Regions from separate parts of the Homo sapiens genome. Here region 1 is linked to region 2. The links are contacts of gene promoters, found by promoter capture Hi-C in human tissues and cell types (Jung and others, 2019). All regions are on one chromosome and are shown on one strand. The core of a region is centred on a gene start or on the middle of the fragment in contact, and the rest is flanking DNA. Distances in the headings are between cores, read along the strand shown.

Region 1 (6,644 bases), core at 540-3,039, 770 kb after region 2:
TTTCCCAAACAAACAGTGCAAGTTCCAGGCAACAAAATAAACTCCAGAAGGATAGATGACTAAGGGAAATTAATAACAGGCACCATTTAAATCTGGTTCCTGATAAATCCTGGACCGTATCTTTAACACATCAAGAGCTATTATCATCAAGATCCCATTTGCCTGTCAATAGGAAGTCATTTTACACCAATAAATCGCCCAAAACCCAAATTAAGTGGCATCCTTCTCACCCCACCCCCCCCCCCAGTATCTGCTACTTATCAATGAATGAATGCAGATCATCAAAAGATCTGGGTCTTTCTGACAGATGTATGACAAACTGCGAGACAGTAATCCCCAAACACTTCTCTCATCCTAAAAATAAACCATTTACATCAGGTTGGCGGTTAGGGCGGGGACCAGGAGGCAAATACCTGCAGCTGGGGTATTTTCCTGCAGCTGGGGGTGGAGCCGGGGACGTACCTTCCATTTTCATTCCCTCTTTCTGTTCTATATACTTCCTAAAGCAGATTCTATTAACCAAGAACTGGGAATAAGCAAGCAAGCAAACAAACAACCTGTGATTTTGCAGAAATGACTGAAAACGGAAATTCACTTACTTCCTGTACTGCACCGGGGGCTTCGAAGTGATGAAAGGTCTAAGCAGGGTCTGTCCTCGACCCTCCCAGCACCAGACCGTCGGGTAGTACGTTTCTGTAACCACGGGACAGTGGTCTTGAAGGAAGCGGCTGAAACTCTCACCCCCGGTCACTAACTGGGGTTTCTGAAGGGAAAAGCAGTATCAGAGAAGGGCCCAGAGCAAAGTTTCTGCCAACCGTAAACCAGAAACCGGCAAAGACTTGTCGCTCGCGCGCGCGCTTCCTCCGATTACAACTCTTTCTGGAGGGCTGACGCAAAAAATTCACAGTCACAGAGGACTGAAACGGGGGTTTCGCCAATGCCCCGAGGGGAAGGCGAGAATCGCGATAAGGGAGTTTGTTTGTTTTTAACTCCGCCTCCCGGGTTCAGGGGATTCTCCTGCCTCAGCCTCCCGAGTAGCTGGGATTGCAGGCGTCCGCCACCACGCCCGGCTAATTTTTTGTAATTGTAACGGGGTTTCACCATTTTGGTCAGGCTGGTCTCGAACTCTTGACCTCAGGTGATCCACCCGCCTCGGGCTCCCAAAGTGCTGAGATTACAGGCGTGAGCCACCGTGCCCTGCCCGGAGTCATTTTCAAAAGCGCCACGGCGTTCCCGAGTGCGCCGCCGGCTTCGCGATCGGTGACCGGGCAGCGCCGCAGCGCAGAAGTCAGCCGGGTTCAGGCTGCGCTCCGAGGACCACCCGGCCGGGACCCCCAGGGGGCGGGCGAACGGGCGGGGCCTGTTGGCTTTCCCGCGCGCGCTGGGGGCTGCCGCTCGGGAGCAGCTCGCCGCCTATCCCCGGGGCTGCCGACCGCCCCTGGCCGCGCAGCCTCGCGCCGCGCCTGCTACCCTAGCTCCTGGCCCAGCAGCCCGCGGCCCTGCGCCACCCCCGGCTCACCTTGGCAATGCTGCTCAGGTAGTAGAAGGCATAAGCGACGCTGAAGCCCAGGATAAGGGATAAGCCCACCCCCGAGCCGAAGAACCCCACCCGGACTTGGTGTTCCAGGTAGAGGGAGAGCTCCCGGGACAACATCCGCAGGTCCATGGCCAGGCGCTGCATGGCCCCCGAGCGCGGCGCGCGGGTCCTGCGGCGGGAGGAGAGCCGGCTGGCGAGCGGGCGAGAGCGGGCGAGAGCGGACGCGGCGCCGCTGCCTACTCCCGACCACAGTGTCTCCTGCCTGGCGGAGCGCGGCTTCCGACAACGGGCGGGGCGGAGCGGCCCAGGGAGGCGTAGCCCGAGACTCCAACGCCGCCCGCTCCGCCCCGGCTTCCTGGAGCCGCCCCCACTGCCAGCCACTCAGGAACCTTCCAGAAGCGCGGTTCCAAGACCGGCCACCGGGAGGGCGGGCGGACTGGGTTCTCCCAGCTAGGTCGCAGTGGGCGATGGGGATCCCCAAGGGTGGGCCGAGAGCTGACGGATCGGCAGCGCTGGTTAAGGCCCCGCACCTGCAGCCCCAGTGACCTTGAACGATTCCGCTCTGCGGCGGGTGTCCCTAAACTAGCAGTTTAGGGTGTCAGGTAAGCGTGCCTTGCATTCAAAGATTTGGGGAGTTAATGCCAAAGATATGTTAGCAGGTAAGAATCCCACATCCTCTAGACGTTTGCGTTGGTCCTCAAGACTATGGAAAGAGAAAAAATATTCTATGAGCATTCAACAGTGAGGACATCATACTCGACTCTGAATCACTCTGTGAATCTTTTTAGTTGCTAAGTGTCACTTAAATGAGAAGTGGTCTCTGAAAATAAATGAAAAGGTCAAGAATAGCAACCGGGATTCAATTGTTAAAAGCCTATTTGTGGTTCATTAATGCTTTGAATTTAGAGACTTATGGAAATTCACACCGATTACCTAATGTACAGACAAGAAACCATTTATGAAGTAGGGTCTCCTAGGCTTATTTATGGCAATATGATAAATCAGGATACTTATGGTTATCTGAAATGGTTAGAATTTAATAGCCTATTCCTACTCTTATGAACTCCTTCCTCAGAGAGGTAGGAAGAATGGCAAGACTTAAACAGACGAAAGAAGGGAAAGTGCTGTCTAGATTATGAAAAATGCCAAAGGATTGTAAATTAATGATGTAATTTAGATGGGGACATGAGACGGACCAGAAGTGAGCAATTTATTTGGCTCCGATTTGGTCATTGCAACTTGGTGGTTGGCTGCAGCACCCAAAATAATTCAATTACCTTTACTGAGCCTGTTTTTTTCTTGTTTTAATAATCTGTAGCGTAACAATTTCTACTTTATAGAGTTCCCGAGAGGACAAGATAGTGTATATACTGGACTCCCCGTGAGCAGAAGTAATTTTCACGCTCTGGCTCTCACACCTGAGCACACATAGCAAACGTGAATGCATATGCTGGTTGCCATACTTGAAACTTCATAGCATTCTTCATAACCCCTGCACCAGCCTTCTGCACTACCTACCAATAAATGCATGCGTATTTCAGTTTAAGTTTGTTCTGTTTTGTTTTGTTTTGTTTTTTGAGACAGAGTTTTGCTCTTGTTGCCCAGGCTGGAGTGCAATGGCGAGATCTCGGGTCACTGCAACCTCCACCTCCCGGGTTCACGTGATTCTCCTGCCTCAGCCTCCCGAGTACCTGGGATTACAGGCATGCACAACCACACCCAGCTAATCTTGTATTTTCAGTAGAGACAGGGTTTCACCATGTTGACCAGGCTGGTCTGGAACTCCTGATCCACTCGCCTCGGCCTCCCAAAGTGCTGGTGAGAGGTGACAACGTGCTAGCAGCCCTCGCTCGCTCTCAGCACCTCCTCAGGCCAGGGCATCCACTCTGGCCGCGTTTGAGGAGCCCTTCAGCCCGCTGCTGCACTGTGGGAGCCCCTCTCTGGGCTGGCTGAGGCCGGAGCCAGCTCCCTCTGCTTGCAGGGAGGTGTGGAGAGAGAGGCGTGGGCGGGAACCGGGGCTGCTGTGCCCCGCGATCACGGGCCAGCGGGAGTTCCGGGTGGGTGTGGGCTCGGCGGGCCCTGCACTCTGAGCGCCGGCTGGCACCGCCGGCCCTGGCCAGTGAGGGGCTTAGCACCCAGACCAGCAGCTGTGGAGGGTGCCCCGGGTCCACCAGCAGTGCCAGCCCGCCAGCGCTGCACTGGAATTCTTGCTGGGCCTCAGCTGCCTCCCCACGGGGCAGGGCTCAGGACCTGCAGCCCGCCATGCCTGAGCCGCACCCCCCGCCCCACTGTGGGCTCCTGCGGGGCAAGCCTCCCCCACGAGCGCTGCCCCCTGCTCTGCCAAGCCGGGTTCCATCCACCGCCCAAGGGCTGAGGAGTGTGGGGCTGACGGGGCAGTACTGGTGGGCAGCTGCGGCTCCCCTGTGGGATCCACTAGGTGAAGCCAGCTGGGCTCCTGAGTCTAGTGGGGACTTGGAGAACCTTTATGTCTAGCTAAGGGATTGTAAATACACCAATCAGCACTCAGTGTCTAGCTCAAGGTTTGTAAATGCACCAATCAGCACTCTGTATCTAGCTAATCTGGTGGGGACTTGGAGAATCTTTATGTCTAGCTAAGGGATTGTAAATACACCAGTCAGCACTCTGTGTCTAGCTCAAGGTTTGTAAACACACTAATCAGCACCCTGTGTCTAGCTCAAGGTTTGTAAATGCACCAATCAGTGCTCTGTGGGGACTTGGAGAAATTTTGTGTCTAGCTCAGCGATTGTAAATGTACCAATCACCACCCTGTCAAAACGGACCAGTCAGCTCTCTGTAAAACAGACCAGGCAGCTCTCTGTAAAATGGGCCAATCAGCAGGATGTGGGTGGGGCCGATAAGGGAATAAAAGCAGGCTGCCCGAGCCAGCAGAGGCAACCTACTGGGGTCGCCTTCCACGTTGTGGAAGCTTTGTCCTTTTGCTCTTTGCAGTAAATCTTGCTGCTGCTCATTCTTTGGGTCCACGCTGTCTTTATGAGCTATAACACTCACTGCGAAGGTTTGCAGCTTCCCTCCTGAGCCAGGGAGACCACGAACCCACCAGAAGGAAGAAACTCCAAACACATCCGAAGATCAGAAGGAACCAACTCTGGACGCCCCTCTTTTAAGAACTGTAACACTCACTGCGATGGTCCGCGGCTTCATTCTTGAAGTCAGTGAGACCAAGAACCCACTAATTCTGGACACACGGGGATTACAGGCATGAGCCACTGTGCCTGGCCCAGTTTAAGTTTAAAGTGAAAGTATTATCGAATAAAATGTTTGTCTGAGCTTGGGCATTATAACAAAATACCATAGCCTAGGTGACTTAAACATACATGTATTTCTCACTGTTCTAGAGGCTGGAAGTTTGAGATCAGGGTACCGATGTGGTTGGGTTTTGGTGAGGGCCCTCTTTTGCCTTGCAGATGGCTTCTCAGGAAGCTCTGATGTCTCTTCCTCCTCTTTTAGAGGCACCAATTCCATCATAGGGACCCTGTCCTCATTATCTCGCCTAAACCTAACTACATCCCAAAAGCCGTGCCTCCTAATACCATCACCTTGAGGGGCTAGGGCTCCAACATGTGAAGGTGGAGGCGGGGGATACAAACATTGATGCCTATAATATTTTATGGCCATCATGGTGTGTAGAAAATGTACTGACCTAGGAGTAAAAAACAGCTCTGAACTTATCCACCAAACTTAGGCAAATCATTTACTCTTTGGGGGCCTCAGTTCCTTGTCTGTAAAATGAGATGATTGAGATGGAGGTTGTCCAAGTTTATTTCCTGTTAGAAAAACATTCTCCATCTTTCTTTAGAACTACTATTTTGGCTGGGCATAGTGGCTCACGCCTGTAATCCCAGCACTTTGGGAGGCCGATGCAGTTGAGTCACTTGAGGTCAGGAGTTCGAGACCAGCTTGACCAACATCGTGAAACCGCATCTCTCCTAAAAATACAAGAAAATTAGCTGGGCATGGTGGTGGGTGCTTGTAATCCCAGCTACTCAGGAGGCCGAGACAGGAGAATTGCTTGAACCCGGGAAGGCGGAGATTCCAGTGAGCCAAGAGCATGCCACTGCACTCCAGCCTGGGCGACAGAGGGAAACTGCCTGAAAAAACCCAAAAAACCAAGTAACTGTTATTCCCAATTTATACATGAGGAAATGAGAGCTCAGAAAGTTTAATTCATTCATTCAATCAGTGTCTTCTTGGGTGATTACAGGGCACTGAGGATCCAATCATAATAATACTTAGAGTCTAGTGTGGCAACAGAGGAGTAAGCAGTTACATTACAAAAAGTGTGGTGTCTGGGGATGGTTCCAGATGCAGCAGGTACACAGGGTTCTTAGTAGCAAACAGCAAAAGTCAATTTGGGCTTACCATATGCAGAAAGGAAATTTATTACAATGGTATGTGATAGCTGATGAAACTCCAGAAGGGCCAGAGAACAAGGCTTAGAAGTTGGGAACAATGCCTTTAAAAGTCGTGGCGAGGCCGGGCGCGGTGGCTCACGCCTGTAATCCCAGCACTTTGGGAGGCCGAGGCGGGCGGATCACGAGGTCAGGAGATCGAGACAATCCTGGCTAACACGGTGAAACCCCGTCTCTGCTAAAAATACAAAAAAAATTAGCTGGGTGCAGTGGCGGGTGCCTGTGGTCTCAGCTACTCAGGAGGCTGAGGCAGGAGAATGGCCTGAACCCAGGAGGTGGAGCTTGCAGTGAGCCCAGATAACGCCACTGCACTACGGCCTGGGCGAAAGAGCGAGACTGTCTCAAAAAAAAAAAAAAAAAAAAAGTCGTGGTGCTGGTCCTGTGATGACAATACTCCTGCTCTCTCTCGGCTACACTGCATGGTTTTTGGCATCCAGACCAGCTATGCTGGGCACAAGGCTGTGTTCTAAATCCCTGACACTGTTGCCTCTGGAAACAGGGTGTTACCACTTCTGCCCCCTCACTACAATGGATTATCCCTGCTTCTTAATTTCACTGTATCCTTATTTATTCAAAGTCTGTTGTGAATGGAACTGACTGGTGCAGTCTAGGTTGTATCTCACCTTCCTCCCAGCTGTGGAGGTAGGAAAACAAAT
Region 2 (7,558 bases), core at 4,020-6,519:
AGTGGATATTTGCATAGCTCTAATGATTTCTTTGGAAACGGGAATACCTTCATATAAAATCTAGACAGAGGCACTCTCAGAAACTGCTTTGTGATATCTGCATTCAAGTCACACAGTTCAACATTCCCTTTCTTAGAGCAGGTTTGAAACACTCTTTTTGCAGGATCTGGAAGTGGACATTTGGAGCGCTTTGACGCCTTTGGTGATAAAGGAAATGTCTTCACATAAAAACTAGAAAGAAGCATTCTAAGAAACATCTTTGTGATATATGTACTCAACTAACCGAGTTGAACCTTGCTCTTTATAGATCAGCTTTTTAATGCTCTTTTTGTGGAATCTGCAAGTGGATATTTGGATAGCTTTCAGGATTTCGTTGGAAACGGGATTACAAACAAAATGTAGACAGCAGCATTCTCAGAAACTTCTTTGTGATGTTTGCTTTTAAGTCACAGAGTTGAACATTCCCTTCCATAGAGCAGTTTAGAAACACTCTTTCTATAGTATCTGGAAGTGGACATTTCGAGCGATTTCAGGCCTATGTTGAAAAACGAAATATCTTCCCATAAAAACTAGACAGTAGCATACTCAGAAGCTTCTTTGTGATGCTTGCTTTTAAGTCACAGAGTTGAACATTCCCTTTCGTAGAGCAGGTTTCAGACACTCTTTCTGTAGTATCTGGAAGTGGACATTTCGAGTGTTTTCAGGCCTATGGTGAACAAGGAAATATCTTCCCATAAAAACCAGACACAAGCATTTGCAGAAACTTGTTTGTGATGCGTGTCCTCAACTCACAGAATAGAACATTTCGTTTGACAGAGCAGCTTGGAAACACGCTTTTTGTAGAATCTGCAATTGGATATTTGGATAGCTTTGTGGATTTCTTTGGAAACGGGAGTATCTTCATATAAAACCTAGACGGAAACATTCTCAGAAACTCCTTTGTAATGTCTGCATTCACGTCACAGATTTGAACATTCCCTTTCATAGAGCAGGTTTGAAACACTCTTTCCGAAGTATCTGGATGTGGACACTTGGAGCGCTTTGACGCTTACGGTGAAAAGGAAATAACTTCCCATGAAAACTAGACAGAAGCATTCTCACAAACTGGTGTGTGATGTATGTCCTCAGCTAACAGAGTTAAACCTTTCTATTTACAGAGCAGTTTTCAAAGACTCTTTTTGGAGAATCTGCAAGTGGATATCTGGAGATCTTTAAGGATTTCATTGGAAACCGGAATATCTTCAGGTAAAATCTAGACAGAGGCATTCTCAGAAACTTCTTCGTGATGTGCGTCCTCAACTAACAGAGTACAACCTGTCTTTTGATACATCAGTTTGGAAACACTCTTTTTGTAGAATCTGGAAGTGGATATTTCGATAGCTCTAACGATTTTGTTGAAAACGGGAATAGCTTCATATAAAATCTAGGCAGAGGCACTCTCAGAAACTAATTTTGTGAGATCTGCATTCAAGTCACAGAGTTGAACATTCCCTCTCGTAGATCTGGTTTGAAACACTCTTTTTTTGTATCTGGAAGTGGATCTTTGGAGCTCTTTGACGACTTTGGTGAAAAAGGAAATATGTCCCCATAAAAACTACACCAAAGCATTCTCAGAAACTTGTTTGTGTTGTGTGTACTCATCTGACAGAGTTGAACGTTTCTTTTTACACAGCAGTTTTGAAACACTCTTTTTGTAGAATCTGCAAGTGGATAATTGGATGACTTTAAGGATTTCGTTGGAAACGGGACTATATTCATGTAAAATCTACACAGAAGCATTCTCAGAATCTTCTTTGTGATGTGTGTCCTCAACTAACAGAGTTCAACCTTTCTTTTGATACAGCAGTTTGGAAACACTCTTTTTGTAGAATCTTCAAGTGGATATTTGGATAGCTCTAACGATTTCGTTGGAAACGGGAATGTCTTCATATAAAATCTGTACAGAAGCACTCTCAGGAGCTACTTTGTGATATCTGCATTCAGGTCACAGAGTTGAACATTCCCTTTCTTAGAGCACGTTTGAAACACACTTTTTGTAGTATCTGGAAGTGGACATTTGGAGCGCTTTCACGCCTTTGGTGAAAAAGGAAATGTCTTCCCATAAAAACTAGACAGAAGCATTCTAAGAAACTTCTTTGTGATATATGCACTCAACTAACCGAGTTGAACCTTTCTCTTTATAGATCAGTTTGAAATGCTCTTTTTGTGGAATCTGCAAGTGGATATTTGGATAGCTCTGAGGATTTCGTTGGAATCGGGATTACATATAAAATATAGACAGCAGCATTCTCAGAAGCTCCTTGTGATGTTTGCTTTTAAGTCACAGAGTTGAACATTCCCTTCCATAGAGCAGTTTTGAAACACTCTTTCTGTAGTATCTCTAAGTGGACATTTCGAGCGATGTCAGGCCTATGTTGAAAAAGGAAATAACTTCCCATAAAAAGTAGACAGAAGCATTCTCAGAAACTTATTTGTGATGGGTGTCCTCAACTAACAGAGTTGAACGTTTCTTTTGATACAACAGTTTAGAAACACTCTTTTTGTAGTATCTGCAAGCGGATATTTCGATAACTTTGAAGATTTCGTTGGAAACGGGAATATCTTCATATACAATCTAGACAGAGGCACTCTCAGAAACTGCTTTGTGATGTCTGCATTCAAGTCACAGAATTGAACATTCTCTTTCATCGAGCACGTTTGTAACACCGTTTCTGTAGTATCTGGATGTGGACATTTGAGCGCTTTGACGCGTACGGTGACATAGGAAATATCTTCCCTTAAAAACTAGACAGAAGCCTTCTCACAAACTGCTTTGTGATGTATGTCCTCCACTAACAGAGTTGAACCTTTCTATTTACAGGGCAGTTTTGAAAGACTCTTTTTGTAGAATCTGCAAGCGGATATTTGGATACCTTTAAGTAGATTTCATTGGAAACGGAAAAGTCATTCTCAGAAACTTCTTTGTGATATGTGTCCCCACCTAACAGAGTACAACCTGTCTTTGGATACAGCAGTTTGGAAACACTCTTTTTGCAGAATCTGCAAGTGGATATTTGGATAGCTCTGACGATTTCCTTGGAAACGGGAATATCTTCATATAAAATCTAGACAGAAGCACTCTCAGGAGGTACTTTGTGATATCTGCATTCAAGTCACAGAGTTGAACATTCCCTTTCATAGAGCTGGTTTGAAACACTCTTTTTGTTGTATCTGGAAATGGATCTTTGGAGCGCTTTGCCGACTTTGGAGAAAAAGGAAATATCTTCCCATAAAAACTAGACAGAAGCATTCTCAGAAACTTGTTTGTGATGTGTGTACTCAACTGACAGAGTTGAACGTTTCTTTTTACACAGCAGTTTTGAAACACTCTTTTTGTAAAATCTGCAAGTGGATAATTGGATGGCTTTAAGGATTTCCTTGGAAACGGGACTATATTCATGTAAAATCTACACAGAAGCATTCTCAGAAACTTCTTTGTGATGTGTGTCCTTAACTAACAGAGTTCAACCTTTCTTTTGATACAGCAGTTTCGAAACACTCCTTTTGTAGAATATGCAAGTGGATATTTGGATAGCTCTAACGATTTCATAGGAAATGGGAATACCTTCATATAAAATCTAGACAGAGGCACTCTCAGAAACTGCTTTGTGATATCTGCACTCAAGTCACAGAGTTGAACATTCCCTTTCTTAGAGCAGGTTTGAGACACTTTGTAGTATCTGGAAGTGGACATTTTTAGCGCTTTGACGCCTTTGGTGAAAAAGGAAATGTTTTCCCATAAAAACTAGACAGAAGCATTCTAAGAAACTTCTTTGGGATATATGTACTCAACTAACAGAGTTGAACCTTTCTATTTATAGGTCAGTTTTGAGAAGCTCTTGTTGTGGAATCTGCAAGTGGATATTAGGATAGCTCTGAGGATTTCCTTGGAAACGGGATTACATATAAAAAGTAGACAGCAGCATTCTCAGAACCTTCTTTGTGATGTTTGCTTTTAAGTCACAGAGTTGAATATTCCCTTACATAGAGCAGGTTTGAAACACTATTTCTGTAGTATCTGGACATGGACATTTCGAGCGATTTCAGGCCTATGTTGAAAACGGAAATATCTTCCCATAAATACTAGACAGAAGCATTCTCAGAAATTTCTTTGTGATGTGTGTCCTCAACTAACAGAGTTCATCCTTTCTTATGATACAGCAGTTTTGAAACACTCTTTTTGTAGAATATGTAAGTGGATAGTTGGATAGCTCTCATTATTTCATTGGAAACGGGAGTATCAACATAGAAAACCTAGACAGAAAAATTCTCAGAAACTGCTTTATGATGTCTGCATTCACGTCACAGAGTTGATCATTCCCTTTCATAGAGCAGGTTTGAAACACTATTTCTGTAGTATGTGGACATGGACATTTCGAGCGATTTCAGGCCTATGTTGAAAACGGAAATATCTTCCCATAAAAACTAGACAGAAGCATTCTCAGAAATTTCTTTGTGATGTGTGTCCTCAACTAACAGAGTTCATCCTTTCTTATGATACAGCAGTTTGGAAACACTCTTTTTGTAGAATATGTAAGTGGATAGTTGGATAGCTCTCACTATTTCGTTGGAAACGGGAGTATCAACATAGAAAACCTAGACAGAAACATTCTCAGAAACTGCTTTATGATGTCTGCATTCACGTCACAGAGTTGATCATTCCCTTTCATAGAGCAGGTTTGAAACCCTCTTTCCGTAGTATCTGGATGTGGACACTTGGAGCGCTTTGACGCTTACGGTGCAAAAGGAAATATCTTCCCATAAAAACTAGACAGAAGCATTCTCACAAACTGGATTGTGATGTTTGTCCTCAACTAACAGAGTTGAAACTTTCTATTTACAGAGCACTTTTGAAAGACTCTTTTTGGAGAATCTGCAAGTGGATATTTGGAGAGCTTTAAGGATTTCATTGGAAACGGGAATATCTTCATATAAAATCTAGACAGAGGCATTCTCAGAAACTTCTTTGTGATGTGTGTCCTCAACCAACGGAGTACATCCTGTCTTTTGATACAGCAGTTTGGAAACACTCTTTTTGTAGAATCTGCAAGTGGATATTTGGATAGCTCTAACGATTTCGTTGGAAACGGGAATATCTTCATAAAAAATCTAGACAGAAGCACTCTCAGAAACTACTTTGTGATATCGGCATTCAAGTCACAGAGTTGAACATTCCCTTTCATGGAGCAGGTTTGAAACACTCTTTTTGTAGTATCTGGAAGTGGACCTTTGGAGCCCTTTAATGATTTTGGTGAAAAAGGAAATATCTTCCCATAAAAACGAGACAGAAGCATTCTCAGAAACTTGTTTGTGATTTGTGTACTCAACTAACAGAGTTGAACCTTTCTTTTTACAGAGCCGTTTTGAAACACTCTTTTTGTAGAATCTGCAAGTGCATATTTGAATGGCTTTAAGGATTTCGTTGGAAATGGCAATATCTTCATGTAAAACCTACACAGAAGCATTCTCAGAAACTTCTTTGTGATGTGTGTCCTCAACTAACAGAGTTGAACCTTTCTTTTGACAGAGCAGTTTTGAAACACTCTTTTTGTAGGATCTGCAAGTGGATATTTGGATAGCTTAGAGGATTTCCTGGGAAATGGGAATATATTCATATGAAATCTAGACAGAAGCATTCTCAGAAACTTCTTTGTGATCTTTTCATTCAACTCGTAGAGTTGAACATTCCCTTTCATAGAGCCAGTTTGAAACACTCTTCTTGTAGTATCGGGAAGTGGACATTTGGAGCGCTCTGACGCCTATGGTGAAAATGGAAATATCTTCCCATAAAAACTAGACAGAAGGATTCTCAGAAACATGTTTGTGATGTATGTACTCAGCTAAGAGAGTGGAACCTTTCTTTTTACAGAGCAGCTTTGATACACTATTTTTGTAGAATCTGCAATTTGATATTTTGATTGCTTTAAAGATATCGTTGGAAACAGGAATATCTTCATATAAAATCTAGACAGAAGCACTCTCGGAAACGACTTTGTGATATCTGCATTCAAGTCTCAGAGTTGAACGTTCCCTTTCTTAGAGCAGGTTTGAAACACTCTTTTTGTAGTATCTGGAAGTGGACATTTGGAGCGCTTTGACGCCTTTGGTGAAAAAGGAAATGTCTTCCCATAAAAACTAGACAGAAGCATTCTAAGAAACTTCTTTGGGATATATGTACTCAACTAACAGAGTTGAACCTTTCTATTTATAGATCAGTTTTGAAACGCTCTTTTTGTGGAATCTGCAAGTGGATATTTGGATGGCTTTGAGGATTTCGTTGGAAACGGGATTATATATAAAAAGTAGACAGCAACATTCTCAGAAGCTTCTTTGTGATGTTTGCTTTTAAGTCACAGGTTTGAACATTCCCTTTCATAAAGCAGGTTTGAAACACTCTTTCTGTAGTATCTGGAAGTGGACATTTTGAGCGCTTTCTGGCCTATGTTGAAAAAGGAAATATCTTTCCATAAAAAGTAGACAGAAGCATTCTCAGAAACTTATTTGTGATGTGTGTCCTCAACTAACAGAGCTGTACCTTTCTTTTGATACAGCAGTTTGGAAACACTCTTTTTGTAGAATTTGCAAGTGGATATTTGGATAACTTCGAAGATTTCGTTGGAAACGGGAATATCTTCATATAAAATCTAGACAGAAGCATTCTCAGAAACTGCTTTTTGATGTCTGCATTCAAGTCACAGAGTTGAACATTCCCTTTCATCTAGCCGGTTTGAAACACTCTTTTTGTAGTATCTGGATGTGGACATTTTGAGCGCTTTGACGCCTACAGTGAAAAAGGAAATATCTTCCCATAAAAAGTAGACAGAAGCATTCTCAGAAACTTGTTTGTGATGTATGTCCTCAACTAACAGAGTTGAACAATTCTTTTTACAGAGCAGTTTTGAAACACTCTTTTTGTAGAATCTGCAGGTGGATATTGGGATAGCTTTAAGGATTTCATTGGAAACGGGAATATCCAAATATCAACTTGCAGATTCTACAAAAATAGTGTATCAAAGCTGCTCTGTAAAAAGAAAGGTTCCACTCTGTTAGCTGAGTACACACATCACAAACATGTTTCTGAGAATCCTTCTGTGTAGTTTTTATAGGAAGATATTTCCTTTTTCAGCATAGGCATCAGAGCGCTCCAAATGTCCACTTCCCGGTAGTACAAGAAGAGTGTTTCAAACCGGCTCTATGAAAGGGAATGTTCAACTCTACGAGTTGAATGAAAAGATCACAAAGAAGTTTCTGAGAATGCTTCTGTCTAGATTTTATATGTATATATTCCCGTTTCCAACGAAATCCTCTAAGCTATCCAAATATCCACTTGCAGATTCCGCAAAAAGAGTGTTTCAAAACTGCTCTGTCAAAAGAAAGGTTCAATTCTGTTAGTTGAGTACAAACATCACAAAGAAGTTTCTGAGAATGCTTCTGTCTAGTTTTTATGGGAAGATATTTCCTTTTTCACCATGGGCCTCAAAGTGCTTCAAACGTCCACTTCCAGATACTACAAAAAGAG

Evidence for each region. Contacts are between HindIII fragments. The study calls those that stand out against the background at their distance.
Region 1: a contact is called between the fragment with the promoter of ABHD3 here and a fragment that was not itself captured in region 2, in 5 of the 25 tissues and cell types used here (bladder, dorsolateral prefrontal cortex, heart right ventricle and 2 more).

What each region holds. Positions count from the first base shown.
Region 1 is chr18:21,702,985-21,709,628 of GRCh38, forward strand. It overlaps ABHD3 (abhydrolase domain containing 3, phospholipase), which reads right to left and starts at 1,790. Exons shown (of 9, transcript NM_138340.5): 1 at 1,520-1,790; 2 at 600-763. The coding sequence starts at 1,681. It also overlaps a transcript of MIB1 not described here. RefSeq lists enhancers at 518-667, 2,128-2,197 and silencers at 1,188-1,957, 4,271-4,471. The HindIII fragment of the contact is 17,143 bases long and covers 1-6,644 here.
Region 2 is chr18:20,931,086-20,938,643 of GRCh38, forward strand. No RefSeq gene overlaps it. Among named protein-coding and RNA genes, the nearest start is that of ROCK1, 180 kb to the right of the region's middle. RefSeq lists enhancers at 3,851-4,456, 4,457-5,064, 5,065-5,672, 5,673-6,280, 6,281-6,886 and 8 more. The HindIII fragment of the contact is 3,583 bases long and covers 3,479-7,061 here.